2 separate regions of the Homo sapiens genome follow, and region 1 is linked to region 2. Evidence: promoter capture Hi-C in human tissues and cell types (Jung and others, 2019). All regions are on one chromosome and are shown on one strand. Each heading gives the region's core, a stretch centred on a gene start or on the middle of the fragment in contact. The rest is flanking DNA. Distances are from core to core; before and after follow the strand shown. Region 1 overlaps NMNAT3 (nicotinamide nucleotide adenylyltransferase 3). Region 2 holds the start of RBP1 (retinol binding protein 1).

Evidence for each region. The method cuts DNA at HindIII sites, captures the fragments that hold promoters and counts their contacts. A contact is called where the count stands out against the background at its distance.
Region 1: a fragment that was not itself captured here is called in contact with the fragment with the promoter of RBP1 in region 2 in 1 of the 25 tissues and cell types used here (spleen).

What each region holds. Positions count from the first base shown.
Region 1 is chr3:139,585,371-139,591,700 of GRCh38, forward strand. The region is part of intron 4 of NMNAT3 (nicotinamide nucleotide adenylyltransferase 3); the gene reads right to left. Among named protein-coding and RNA genes, the nearest start is that of RBP1, 49 kb to the left of the region's middle. RefSeq lists an enhancer at 1,165-1,554. The HindIII fragment of the contact is 3,521 bases long and covers 2,808-6,328 here.
Region 2 is chr3:139,537,696-139,544,113 of GRCh38, forward strand. RBP1 (retinol binding protein 1) reads right to left here and starts at 2,047. Exons shown (of 4, transcript NM_002899.5): 1 at 1,765-2,047; 2 at 1,086-1,264. The coding sequence starts at 2,023. The region is part of intron 3 of COPB2-DT (COPB2 divergent transcript); the gene reads left to right. RefSeq lists an enhancer at 1-1,122. The HindIII fragment of the contact is 8,428 bases long and covers 1-5,560 here.

The DNA.
Region 1 (6,330 bases), core at 3,318-5,817, 50 kb after region 2:
GTGACTTTCTATAGTTTCTTTTTTCTTTAGATATAAATACTACTTTTAAAATCTGTATCATACAATGCCAGTTTCAAAGTCTGTACAGGTTATTTCTGTTGTCTGTTTTTTCTGATAGTTCTTAGTCATATTGTTTTCTTTTGTGCCTAGTTATTTTTCAATGTTTTCTGGTGAATGCTCCTGAGCAGTTATTTGTGAAAGATCCTCCAGATCTAAGATAGATATTCCAGAGACACTTCATATTTGCTTTTGCCAGGCACCTAAAACTCATGAATAACCTGAAATCAAATTCCTGGCTTGAGTTTTTTTGGCTAATCCAGGATGGGAGTTTCAAATCTGAGCAAGGACTCATGTGTGGCTGCTTCTTCCTAGGGATATTTTATTCTTTCACTTTTCCTCTTTTGCCTCAGCACTAAAGCACTAAGGCTTCTCAGAAGTTCTCTAGGATTAGGGGGAAAAGGTGAATTAAGATCTAGTTTACCTTACCCCGGAGGGTATAGCTCCTTGTGGGTTCAGCTGAATGTAGGGGAAGTCAACTCTGAGGCTTCTCAGCTTGGAAGGGATCCAGTCTCTGAATTCTGTTCTTCCCGACTTGCATGGCTGCTGATTCAAAGCTTAAGTGAGCCGTTCTGGCAAGTGCTCAACAGGGCACCAGTGGCTCTGGTGCTCCCATAGCCTGCTAACCTCTCTGGTTCCAGGTGTTTATCTCTCAGCTTTTTAGCTTTAATAGTGAAGTTTGCTAAAGAGAAGCAGAACAGAAAACCAATACCGCATGTTCTCACTTCTAAGTGGAAGCTAATGATGAGAACTCATGATCACAAAGAAGGGACCAATACACACTGGGGTCTACTTGAGGGTGGAGGGTGGAGAGTGAGAGAAGCAGAGAAAATAACTAATGGGCACCAAGCTTAATACCTGGGTGATGAAATAATCTGTGCAATAGACCCCTGAGACATGAGTTTATCTACATAACAAACCTTCACATGTACCCTCGAACCCAAAATAAAAGTTTAAAAAAGGTGAAGTGTGGAAAACGTGCTACCCACCACTTTTTGTTGTTTTAATGGAAAAGTTGATCCTAAGAGTGTAGGCTGCCCCCCTGGAAACTGGAAGCATTTTCCTTCCATGGTAATCCTGGCAGGCCCAGGCTCTCCTTCCTGAGGGCTGAGGTACCCCCTCCTTCAAGGGGATGGCAGAACCCAGCTGAGAGCAAGGAGGTCATATTCAGTTTTTGACTCCCACAACTGGCTCTTGAAACTCATTTCAGAGGTAATGCTTGTGAAGGTTAAAGCTTTCATTTAAAAGAGCCAGGCTATATTGAGAGAGAAAAGGTTTATTTAAGTTCCAAAAGTTACTCTTAAAATAATCAAGAACCAGAAAACCCGGGGAATCAGAGTGCACAGTTTCACTAAAGCCCACAGAGCAGTAAAAAGAAAAGAAAGTGAAAATGAAAACAAAAGGCCCTTTTTGGCCTGAGGGTGAGGTGAGGTGGAAGAATGGGCAGAAGGGCAGAGAAAAGCCTGATAGACAATGTCTGTGGTGACAGTTTAGACAGGTATTAGGCCTGCTCCCTATACTCTCATACCCTGCAGAGATAAACCTAATTTGTATTGGGGTTTGGGAGGGCATAGTTAAGATGCCCAGTTAAATCTGACAATGTTAGAGCAGTGGAGTTTATATTTTGCTTCCCATCTGGAATTCTGGAAGACCACCTTGCATTGCCCTGTGCCAATACACAACGGCACTGACAGAATAGAAATGGCATGTGGCGTGTATAGCAGAGAGAGCTTCAGAACAGCCTCCTTCAGCTTTGGCAAGGTATGGCACAGATCCACAGCAATTCTAAGTCTCCTTGAGAGGAATAGTGAAGGAGGCTGAGAATTAGCAGTCAGCAGGTGCCTGGGCTACTAGCGGGTAGATACAGGGTATAGGGAGTACAGTCCAAAGCCAGGGACTATGGCATTGACAGTACCATGGGGAGCCAAGGCACAGGTCCAGACAACAGGGATATAATGCCTGAGACAAGAGAAGCTGAGGAGGCTTCAATAGTGGAGCGAGAGTGGATAGATGCCAGTGCCTAAGATTAAGGACAGATCCCTCGGCTAGAAAGTAGTGAGGGCAGCTGCCCTGTTTTGGAAGCCAGGATGCTAAGCCATCCAGGATGCTTAATGCACTCTTGGGGAGGTAGGCAGGAAAAAATGCACTTGATTAATAACTAACCTGTAAAAGACTAAGCTGAAAATTAAAAAGTTTACCACTTCAGGAATCCCTTGAAGTGACATATTTTTTCACAATTCATGGAAATGGTGGCTTAAGATCAAGTTGAATGTTATAGAAAGCAAAGTAAGTTATCTTTCTGCGCATCTGAGCTCATGTTATACATGGGACATACATGCTCCTTCTTTTTCTCTTCCTGTTTAAAAGAAATGGGGGTTGGGAGGACTAACTCCTGCTGGGTGCTGACTTTCTTGAGCAATTTACATACATTTAACCTTCACATTAATTTCTGTTTTATAGAAGAAAATGGTGGAAGGACAGGGCTCTCTCCAGGCAGCTCTGCTGGGCATGTTGGATACCCAGGTGTCACCTGTGATGGTTTAGCTCATCTTGATAGGACAGGCCCTGCATTGAGAAATCAATGCTTTTTTATAGCACCCAGGAGAGGAGAGTCAATAAAAATAACAATTTGATCTAAAACTCCTTCTTGCCCTCCAAATGGTCATAAGTCCAAGCCTTTTCCCTTCCCCACTGCTCTAGGTCACAATCCCAGTGACCCTCTCAGGCCCTCCCCCACTAGATGCAGATACTTCTCCTGTGACCCTCTGCTGCTCAGACACATCTCCATTACAGCACCTGTATGAAAATGATTCATCTGCCTGTGCCTTTCCCATGACACTGAGCGCTCCTTAAGGACGTGAACTTGTCTTTTCGTTCTGGGTAACACGACGAGCACATTAGTTAGAATGAAGATATACCATCCCTACAGACAGAATTCCTTGTTTATCTCTACCCTCTCTGAAAACTAAGAAAATGATAATAAAGGAATAAATAAAGTATGAAATCATAAGGGCAAAGAGAGTGCAAAAGGAGACAATAGTTGGGAAAATGCAAAACATTTTGGACACTGGAGAGCTGATAAAAATTGATAATAAACCAAGCAGAGTCTTCTGCATGCAGGGAAGGCAGTAAGAGGCAAGCTGTGCAGTAGCAGAGGCCCAGAGTGGCTCAGGAATCGGAGGAGCCAAGAACCTCTCCAGGTGGGGGTGCCAGAGGGCCTGAAAACAGGAGGGCCAGTTGAGAGTTTGTATGAAGAGTCCTTGGATCCACCCCAGCCTCTAATCGCCTACGTTATCCTCCCATTGTGGCAGAAGGGCGCATATCTACTTTCTGCCTGGGTTGGACCAGAGAGAACCTTTATTCTCAAATATAGGCACAGCTGAGGGAGGGGAAGTAACATCTTTAAGACAGAAGGATTAAGTATGTTTCCCAGAATGTCTCTCTGGGGAACAGACCTACCTAGGAAAAGACACCAACACCTACACACATTTGGGGGTCTTGAACCTAGGGCCTGACCATATAACCATGAGGTCTATCAGCTTTACATTCACATCCAGAGCTTCTAGCCTGCATTTAGGGCCTGATCTGCAAACATGAGTGGACAGTCTAGGAAGAGACAAATTTTGGAAAGGTGCTCACCATGAAAGACAGAGACTAAAACAGCCACCAGGAGCAAAGGAACTTGGAGGATACAAAGGCAATGCAGAAATTGTATGCAGGATTTGCAGGAATTGTATGCAGGAATTGTAAAATAGAAGAAAAGACTAGAGGTTTAATATAGGAGGTACACAGTGAACTAATAGAAATTTCTGAAAGAGAACAGGAAAACAGAAGAAATTATCAAATAAATAAGACATTCTATTTTCCCAGACTAGAAGGACATACATTTTCAGAATCAATGGTCCTCTGAGAATCAACATTTGGCATAAAAGAAGATTCACACAATGGCAAAACATTATAAGATTTTAGATGAGTAGGTTTAAAGAGAAGGTCCTGAAAGTTTCAAAAGAGAAAACCAGAGGTTTAACATACAGAACTGGAAAGCAGGATAGCATTGGATTTCTCAACAGCAAGTCTTGAATCCAGGAGACAGTGGAGTGAAGTCTTCAAAATGTTAAAGGAAAATCATTTCCAACCTTAATTCTACATTTGGCCAAACTACCAATCAATTAGAACAGGTGTCAGCAGGCTTTTTCCATTATTGGACAGATAGTAAATAGTTTAGGCTTTGCAGGCCACATACAGTTTTTATGGGCCACATACAAGCTTTGTTGCATAATTTTAAAAGCCATTTAAAAAATGTAAGCAAACCATCCCATAGCTCACAACATGAATGAAAATAGGCTATGGATCAGATTTGGCCCATGGGCTGTAGTTTACTGCCCTCTGAAGTATGGCATGAAGTTGTGTTCATACATGCTAGGTCTCAGAAAATTTACCTCCTCTATACCCTTTCTCACAAAGATGCCAGAAGACGAACTCCACCACCCAAATAAGAGAGTAAACCCAAAAGCAGAAGGCATGGGATCCAAGAAACAGGGGTTTTGAATCAGGAAACAGGCACAGAGAATCCCCAGGGAGACAGTGAAAGGCAATCCCAGGATGACAGTATAGTGGGTACAGAGAGCTGGATGTCCAGCTAGGACCTGGAGGGCTTCAGGAGGGATATGGGCAGACACAAAACGGAACAGACAGATCATCTGATGAATTTGTCTGTACTAAGAAGAGTTTTAGAGATCTTTTGGTAAAATTGGGACTGAATTAATGATAGGCATAGGAAACTAAGGCAACAAATACATGAACAATTACTAACTCTAGGAAAAAACCCAAAGTTTATATGGGAGGCAGTGGAATCATAGTGCACTGCATGGTTTTCTTGACACTATTTACATAGACATAAATGTGAACAATAATATGAATCAAACCCAAAGTTATGAGCTAATCAATTTGGGAGCATGTGGTGGAGGCGAGGTGTGAATGGGAGGGTGGAGGTGTGAGAGAGTGAAATCTTCATTTTTCCTGAAGGAAGCCAAGATATATTATCTAAATCTGAAAAAACAAGATATAACAGTATAAGCTTGTTATTTAGAAATGGGGAGTCAAGTACCAGAGAAAACATCTGAAAGAGTCATAAGTGATTGCTCTGGGAACCAGGAATCAGAAATGAGGATGGAACAAATAACACTATAAGCCTTAGAGTAACAACTTTTATTATCTAATAAATTTATAAATATGATATATAAAATAAGCTTAAAAATTAATGCGTGCTGTAGAAATATTACAGTCTACTGAAAAGTGTGAAGGATAAAAAGTTAATAAAACGTATCTAAGATGTTAATATGGTTTATATTATAGTTCATTTTGTATTTTTTTATACTTTTCTTCAAACCACGTAAATTCACTTTTAATTCTTCTTTATTTAGATTATATCATAAGGGTTTTTCTTGGTCATTAGCACTCTTGAAAACATCACTTTTAATAGCTGCATAATGATATAGATTAAAAATATATAAAAAAAGAATTTACTCAGAGGAGGAGCCAAGATGGCCGAATAGGAACAGCTCCGGTCTACAGCTCCCAGTGAGAGCGACACAGAAGACGGGTGATTTCTGCATTTCCATCTGAGGTACCGGGTTCATCTCACTAGGGAGTGCCAGACAGTGGGCGCAGGCCAGTGTGTGTGCGCACCGTGCGCGAGCCGAAGCAGGGCGAGGCATTGCCTCACCTGGGAAGCGCAAGGGGTCAGGGAGTTCCCTTTCCGAGTCAAAGAAAGGGGTGACGGACGCACCTGGAAAATCGGGTCACTCCCACCCGAATATTGCGCTTTTCAGACCGGCTTAAGAAACGGCGCACGACGAGACTATATCCCACACCTGGCTCAGAGGGTCCTACGCCCACGGAATCGCGCTGATTGCTAGCACAGCAGTCTGAGATCAAACTGCAAGGCGGCAACGAGGCTCGGGAAGGGGCGCCCGCCATTGCCCAGGCTTGCTTAGGTAAACAAAGCAGCCGGGAAGCTCGAACTGGGTGGAGCCCACCACAGCTCAAGGAGGCCTGCCTGCCTCTGTAGGCTCCACCTCTGGGGGCAGGGTACAGACAAACAAAAAGACAGCAGTAACCTCTGCAGACTTAAATGTCCCTGTCTGACAGCTTTGAAGAGAGCAGTGGTTCTCCCACCACGCAGCTGGAGATCTGAGAACGGGCAGACTGCCTCCTTAAGTGGGTCCCTGACCCCTGACCCCCGAGCAGCCTAACTGGGAGGCACCCCCCAGC
Region 2 (6,418 bases), core at 797-3,296:
TTCCTCTGTCTGAGCCTCAGTCACTGCATAACATGGGGTTACTTATCCCTCCCTCACTGTGCTGTGCTGTAAGATGACTAGCACAGTGCTGGACACACAGCAGACCAGCGGTAAAGACCCTTGGTAAATGGTGGGAGGTGGTGGGTGAGGACCCCATCAATAAGCAAGGTGGCTCCTGGGATGAACATAAGCCACTTCTGAACCCAAGACTATAAAGGGAGAACAAGAGTACCTTGACCTCCCAGCAACCAGATAATGTTGATGGAGGCCTGGGGCTGGCCTTCCGGCATCTGCTGTGGCAGTACTAATTGGGATGTCCTGGGTCAGGAGTTTCCCACCCTTGTGGAAGGGAGCTCTTGGCCCTCCCTCTTCCCCCACTGCTGTTTCCTCTGGTCTGGGCTGGAGGGGCCCTGACTTACTGAATAGGTGTCAGCTGCAAAGTTCAAAGAATGCTCAGTAGGCATTGGATGACAGGGTGGGGCAGGGGATGGCCAGGAGCCAAATCCCAGCTCTGGGGCAAGGATGGGCAGATCAGGGGGCTTCCAGCAGAGATCAAGGGGCCCCCAGCTTCCTGGAGTGACTTCACACTAAGTCATACTGAAAGTTTACACTTCAAAGGGGTTACCTGTGTTTCTTTTTTCTTTCCTCCTTTCTTTTCTTTTACCCTCCACCAGCCCAGTCAGCCAGAGAACGGCATCAACAGACATGCTTTGAACTCCAGACCCTCCCTAGCTGTGCTACTCTGGACATGTTACTTCATCTCTTTGAGACTGTTTCTTCATCTGTAAAATGGGCATATTCATATCTCCCTCAAAGGCTGTGTGAGGCTTAGGTGAAGTCATGTGCATAAAGCACCGGGCAGAGTGCCTGAACGCAGTGGAGACACAGCACATGGCAGCCTTCATAACCATCACCTTCCAGTGTAGATAGAGCAGGATGCTTCATGAGTTGGTGCTGCCCACCATGGGGGCTGAGAGTGGGAAGAGTTTTCAGTCCCTCAGGCCCTTGCCCCCTCTCGGATGAACTAGCCCAGCCCTTGGTCAGGCCCCCTGGGCAGGAGACACCAGGTGGACGCGAATCCTCACCATGCACTTGCGGTCATCTATGCCTGTCAGATCCTCCTCAAACTCCTTCCCAACCTGGAAGTCCATGATGTAGTTCCTAAAAGTGCTCAGCGTGCGGATGATCATATGGTCACCGTCCTGCACGATCTCTTTGTCTGGCTTCAGCAAGTTGGCGATTTTGCGCAAGGCCACATTGACGTCTGCGGTGGGGGTTGAACGGGGAGAGAGAGAGCGCCAGAGAGTTGGCAGGGAAACTCAGAGAACCGTTCCCAAGGTAGCGGGGCCCCAGGAGCCCTCTCCGCCCGCGAACACTGTTAGGGTTCCCGCTGGCTTTGCGTTGTCTCTGCGCACAGCCTGCCTGTGCCTCCCCTGCCGCCCCCAACAAAGTTTTCTGCTCTTATGTTAACCGTTTAAAAACAAAAAGTAGCAAACCAAGCCCCAGATTTACTAATGAAATTACCCACCTCCAGGGCCAACGAGCAGACATTTGCCACCGGTTAACCTAACAACCCCGAATTCTCCAATCTGCAGCCTGGGGGCTGCCCTGGGAGCGGTGGCCGAGGACGCCCTTTCTGGCGTCCGGGGGCACCGGACCGCGGCTCGCCGGGATGGAGGCAGGCAGGCAGCGTCTCGGGAGGGCTCTAGGGAGCGGCCCGGAGCTGCTCGGCGGGGCGCCCAGGGCGCAGCGGGCAGCGCTTACCGAGGGCGCGCAGGTACTCCTCGAAATTCTCGTTGACCAACATCTTCCAGTACCCAGTGAAGTCGACTGGCATTTCGGGGAGTGACTGGAGCCAGTTGGCCACAAGCGGGCGGGACGGCTGGAGACTGCCGGGACAGCGGCTGCCGGTGCTACGCGGGTGGTGGGCGGCCCGGAAATGAGCGCCCTCCGGGGACAGGGGGCTCTGCGGGGCGGCGACAGCTGGATTCCCAGCGCGCACAAAGCCTGCGGGAGGATCCATTGTAGCGGTCGCTCCTCCCCGCTTAGCGAGGGCGGGCGCAGGGGCGGGGGATGTCGAAGGGTCAGGTTTGTCCAGGCCGCGCCACCTTCGTTTCAGACGTTCAGTTCGTTTCCCCTACAAAGGAAGAGGAGACCGGAGACGGGACGTTTGCTTTGTTGGCCGAACTCTTCGGCTGCTGGGGATTTCCTTCAAACGCCATTAACTTCTCACACTCAGCAGCCACTCGGGAGTTGGGAAACAATCTCCTGGGGTTTGTGCTGGCGTGATTAAGGAAAGAGGCCACTTACAGGCCTTTGTCTAAAGCCTCGCGCCGGTGGTGGCTGGGGTCAGGAAAGCTGGGAGGTTCAACTACGGGCGAGAAAATTGGGGCACTTTCCACGTCTCTCCCGAAAATAAAAGAAAGGATGCCGGGCACGGCGGCTCACGCCTGTAATCCCAGCACTTTGGGAGGCCGAGGCGGGCGGATCACCTGAGGTCAGGAATTCGACACCAGCCTGGGCAACACGGTAAAACCTCGTCTCTACTAAAAATACAAAAAATTAGCCGGGCGTGGTCGCGGGCGCCTGTAGTCCCAACTACTCGGGAGGCTGAGGCAGGAGAATAGCTTGAACCCGGGAGGAGGAGGTTGTAGTGAGCCGAGATCGTGCCACTACACTCCAGCCTGGGCGACAGAGTGAGACTCTGGCTCAATAAATAAATAAATAAATAAGTAAAATAGTTGATGTTATTTGAAGTGCATGTGGCTAAAAAAGCCTTCTGGGTGATTCTGATGCACAATCAACTTTGAGATCCACTGCTGCTTTATGCAAATGTAAGCAATATACTGTTTATTAATGTTTCCTCCCGTTTCACCTAATGGCAGCACTGTACTCCACGGTGTTCTGGACTTTGCTTTATTCACTTAATATATTCTGGAGACTTTTCCATAGCTGTACATAGAAAGTATCCCCATTATTTTACGGAGTATTCCATTGCTTATCCAGCTTGTCCCCTGATGGACAAACTATATTGTTTCTGATCTTTCACTATTAAAAGCAGTACTGCAATGAAAATCTTTGATCACATCTCCTTTGTCACCTGCGTGGGTATGTCATTGTGGTTTAACTGCATTTGCCACCAAGTAGATGACATAATCACATGGGCTGACTTTTTGACCCTCTTTTTGACTACCTCTTTTAAATCGCTTTTTGCACAAATCACAGCCTAAGTGACAGCAGATAACATTTTCTTCCCCTCTAGCACCACCTTCCCCAGGGTGCCTCCCTGGGGCTCACATGTGTTCTCACAGTGCAGGCTGAATTAGGAAAAGGAGCCTCTTCCTCAGGGTAGAGACAGCTTCCTCCCAGGCAGCAACTTGGATTTCAGCGCTTCTCACCCTCTTTCCCTAGACTAGGATTTGTTTCTTAATCTCTGTGCTACTGACATTCTAGGCCACATAAGTCTTTGTTACAGGAGCCTGTCCTGTGTACTGTAGGATATTTAGTGGCATCCCTGGCCTCTACCCATTAGATCCCAGTGGCACCCAGACACAAAGATGTCGCCAGACATTGTCAAAGGCACTGGGGTGTGGGTGCTGGGTAAACCAGCCCTGGTTGAGAGCCAGCTCTAGGCCCTTGTTTCCCACTGCTTCTTTGTCTGGCTCTGGATGGTTAGGTCATCAGTTGTTCACACAAGCACTGGCTCTGTGTCCCTCCCTAGCCAGCCCAGGGCTCATCTTGGCTGGGCACTCAGGGCAACCTATCCCAGTCCTTCCAACCTGAAGGTGCAATAAGACACCTCGCAAGGATGGATGGGGCCTGGCCCAGGTTCTGTAAGGCATCCCACCAGGGCCAGCCATGCTTTGGGCTTTCTTGTTATCCTGACTTACCAGAATGGAGCATTGGTCAAAGGCTTAAGCAGTGAACTGGCCATTCCTTGGTCACTTCCAACTAGTCTAAACTCTTCTCCCTGCTCTCTGATGCCTCCAGCCCAGCTAGCCGGATTTCTCATCCTCCCCAAACTTCTCCCTTTATGCTGAATCACCTGAGATGGTTTATGCCAAATGCTCAGCACAGTGCCTGGCACACAGCAGAGGCCAGTCTGTTCTGACTCCCTGCCATGCTTGGAATGGCCCTTTCGTGCTCGAGGCAGAGGCCTGCCCACCTCTCCAGTCCTTCTTGTCCATCCCAAAGAACCACAAGCTTGCCACTCCTCCCTCTTCTGACCACGTTGGATAACTTCTGCTCACCTGATCTCACTTTTCTGACCTGGTCAGCTGAACATATAGCACTTAATTCAGCTAGTTTCACTCAGTTTCTGTCTGTCCACCTCTTTGTCTAGTCTTCCAAATGGGTCAGTACGCTCCTGCCCTTCTGGGTCTCCTCCCAGGCACAGCCCCTGGTGGCTGTGCTATTTCTTGCAGCAAAGGGTAGGCTGCATGTGTAGGCTTTAGAGGCAGAATGCCTGTTCTTGCTAGCTGGGTCACTGTCTACCAGAGTGATTTGGGGTAAGATACTTGATCTCTTTGTGGCTTAGTCACCACATCTGTGAAATGGGGACACTCTGACTACCTCTCAGGGTGCTGAGAAGCAAAGGATGAGGAATCTACAGGGCGTGGCACTGAGTACTGTTCCAGATCCACTGCTGTTTGAGCCAGAGGGGCCCTAGAAGGGAGGGAAAAGACAAGGGAGAGCCTGGGTGCTGGTTTGTGCCCCTCTTCTGGGGCTTTAAGATCAGTCTAATGAGTTGAAATGGGAAATGCTCTTCAGAAGCATCAGCTACCATCAAAGTTATCCTTCCTCAGCCCATGCTGTTGTGCTTGATTTAATCCATTTGGTTCTCGATTTGGAAACAAAAAGTATTTTTTGGAGCTCCTTTCTGTCTGGGTTAATCTTCCTTGGAATGTGTGAAGCAAAGAAAGAGTAACTGAACACAGTATGTAAAGAAGAAGGAGGGTGTCTGTGTGGGCTTGCAATCAGTGAGGGCTCCCTGGACGGGGTGAGGCTCTAGCTGGAGCTTGAGGACAGCCAGGATCAGAGAGATGAGGAGGAGGAAGGATAGTCCAGGTGACCAAGGAGACAGGTGAGCAATGGAGTGCCAGAGTGCCAAAGCAACGGCCAACTTGTAAATGACTGAGAGAAAGAGATGTCAGTATACTCAGGCACCTCTAATGGGGTTCGCTTTATTCAATAGCTTTAAAGAAGAGCAGCAGAGATCTACAACCAATTCTTGGGGGCTCAAATTGCTCCCAAGGCCACAAAGAAGAGCCAGACCAGTGGGAAACCACCCTGGCCTGTGTATAGAGTGAGTTAGACAGGCACAAAGAACAATTTTATGTTGGGGAGGAGAGGAGACAGCCAAGGATCTCCAGCGTGAGCTCCTGAGTGAGGGAAGCTCAGGGACACTGCAGGCCCTTCCTGTGAGGATAGGAAGGAAATATGCCTTTTCATTTTTCAGCTGATCAGTCAACTCCACAGGAACAAACCAGAGCTCAGAAAAATATGTCCATGGGCCGGGCATGGTGGGTCACCCCTGTAATCCCAGCACTTTGGGAGGCCGAGGTGGGCAGATCACTTGAGTTCAGGAGTTTGAGACCAGCCTGGCCAATATGATGAAACCCCGTCTTTACTAAAAATACAAAAATTAGGCAGGTGTGGTGGCACACACCTGTAGTTCCAGCTACTTGGGAGGCTGGACAGGATAATTGCTTGAACCTGGGAAGCTGAGATTGTGGTGAGCCGAGATTGTGCCATTGCACTCCAGCCTGGGTATCACAGTGAAACTCCATCTCAAAAAAGAAAAAGAAAAAAGAAAAATAGGTCCATGAAATGATGCCTCAATCGCCTGCCTTGTGAGGCGGGCAGTACTATGCCTGTATCACTGCAGATCAAGCAGCTTGCCAGGGTCCCCAGTTGTTGGGGTGGCAGAGCTTCCCAAAGGCAATGGGGTTGGAGGAGAGCCCTGAAACAGACCCTGAGGTTCTGTCCCCAGCCCCCAGAAGATATTTCTCTCAAGATCCTGGGGTAGGGGGTGACTTGCAGTCTCATCCCACCCTGTCTGCCAGGTCTGCCCCATGCCAAGAGATTCACTCCTAGCAGGGGAAAGGTGGCCTGATACTTCTACAACTTATAAGAAAATATTTCTCATCTGGCTTCCCTGTCTCTCAGACCATGTCCCTGCTTTTCTTCTCAAGGGCTCATTGTTATCTTGGAGACTTCTAAAATCTTCCTTTTTCCTGTGTTCAAATATGTCTCCGGAGTTATGCGATGGAGAATGACCCTGCTCAAATCTCCGAGCCATTACCATGCCATCTATGAGGTTAATGTCTGAAAGGATGAGAGTGGCCCAACAAAGCTGCCTTCCTGTGTAGGGGAGTGAGAGAGCTTGTCAAGAGGCCACAGAGGCTAAGGGGCATTG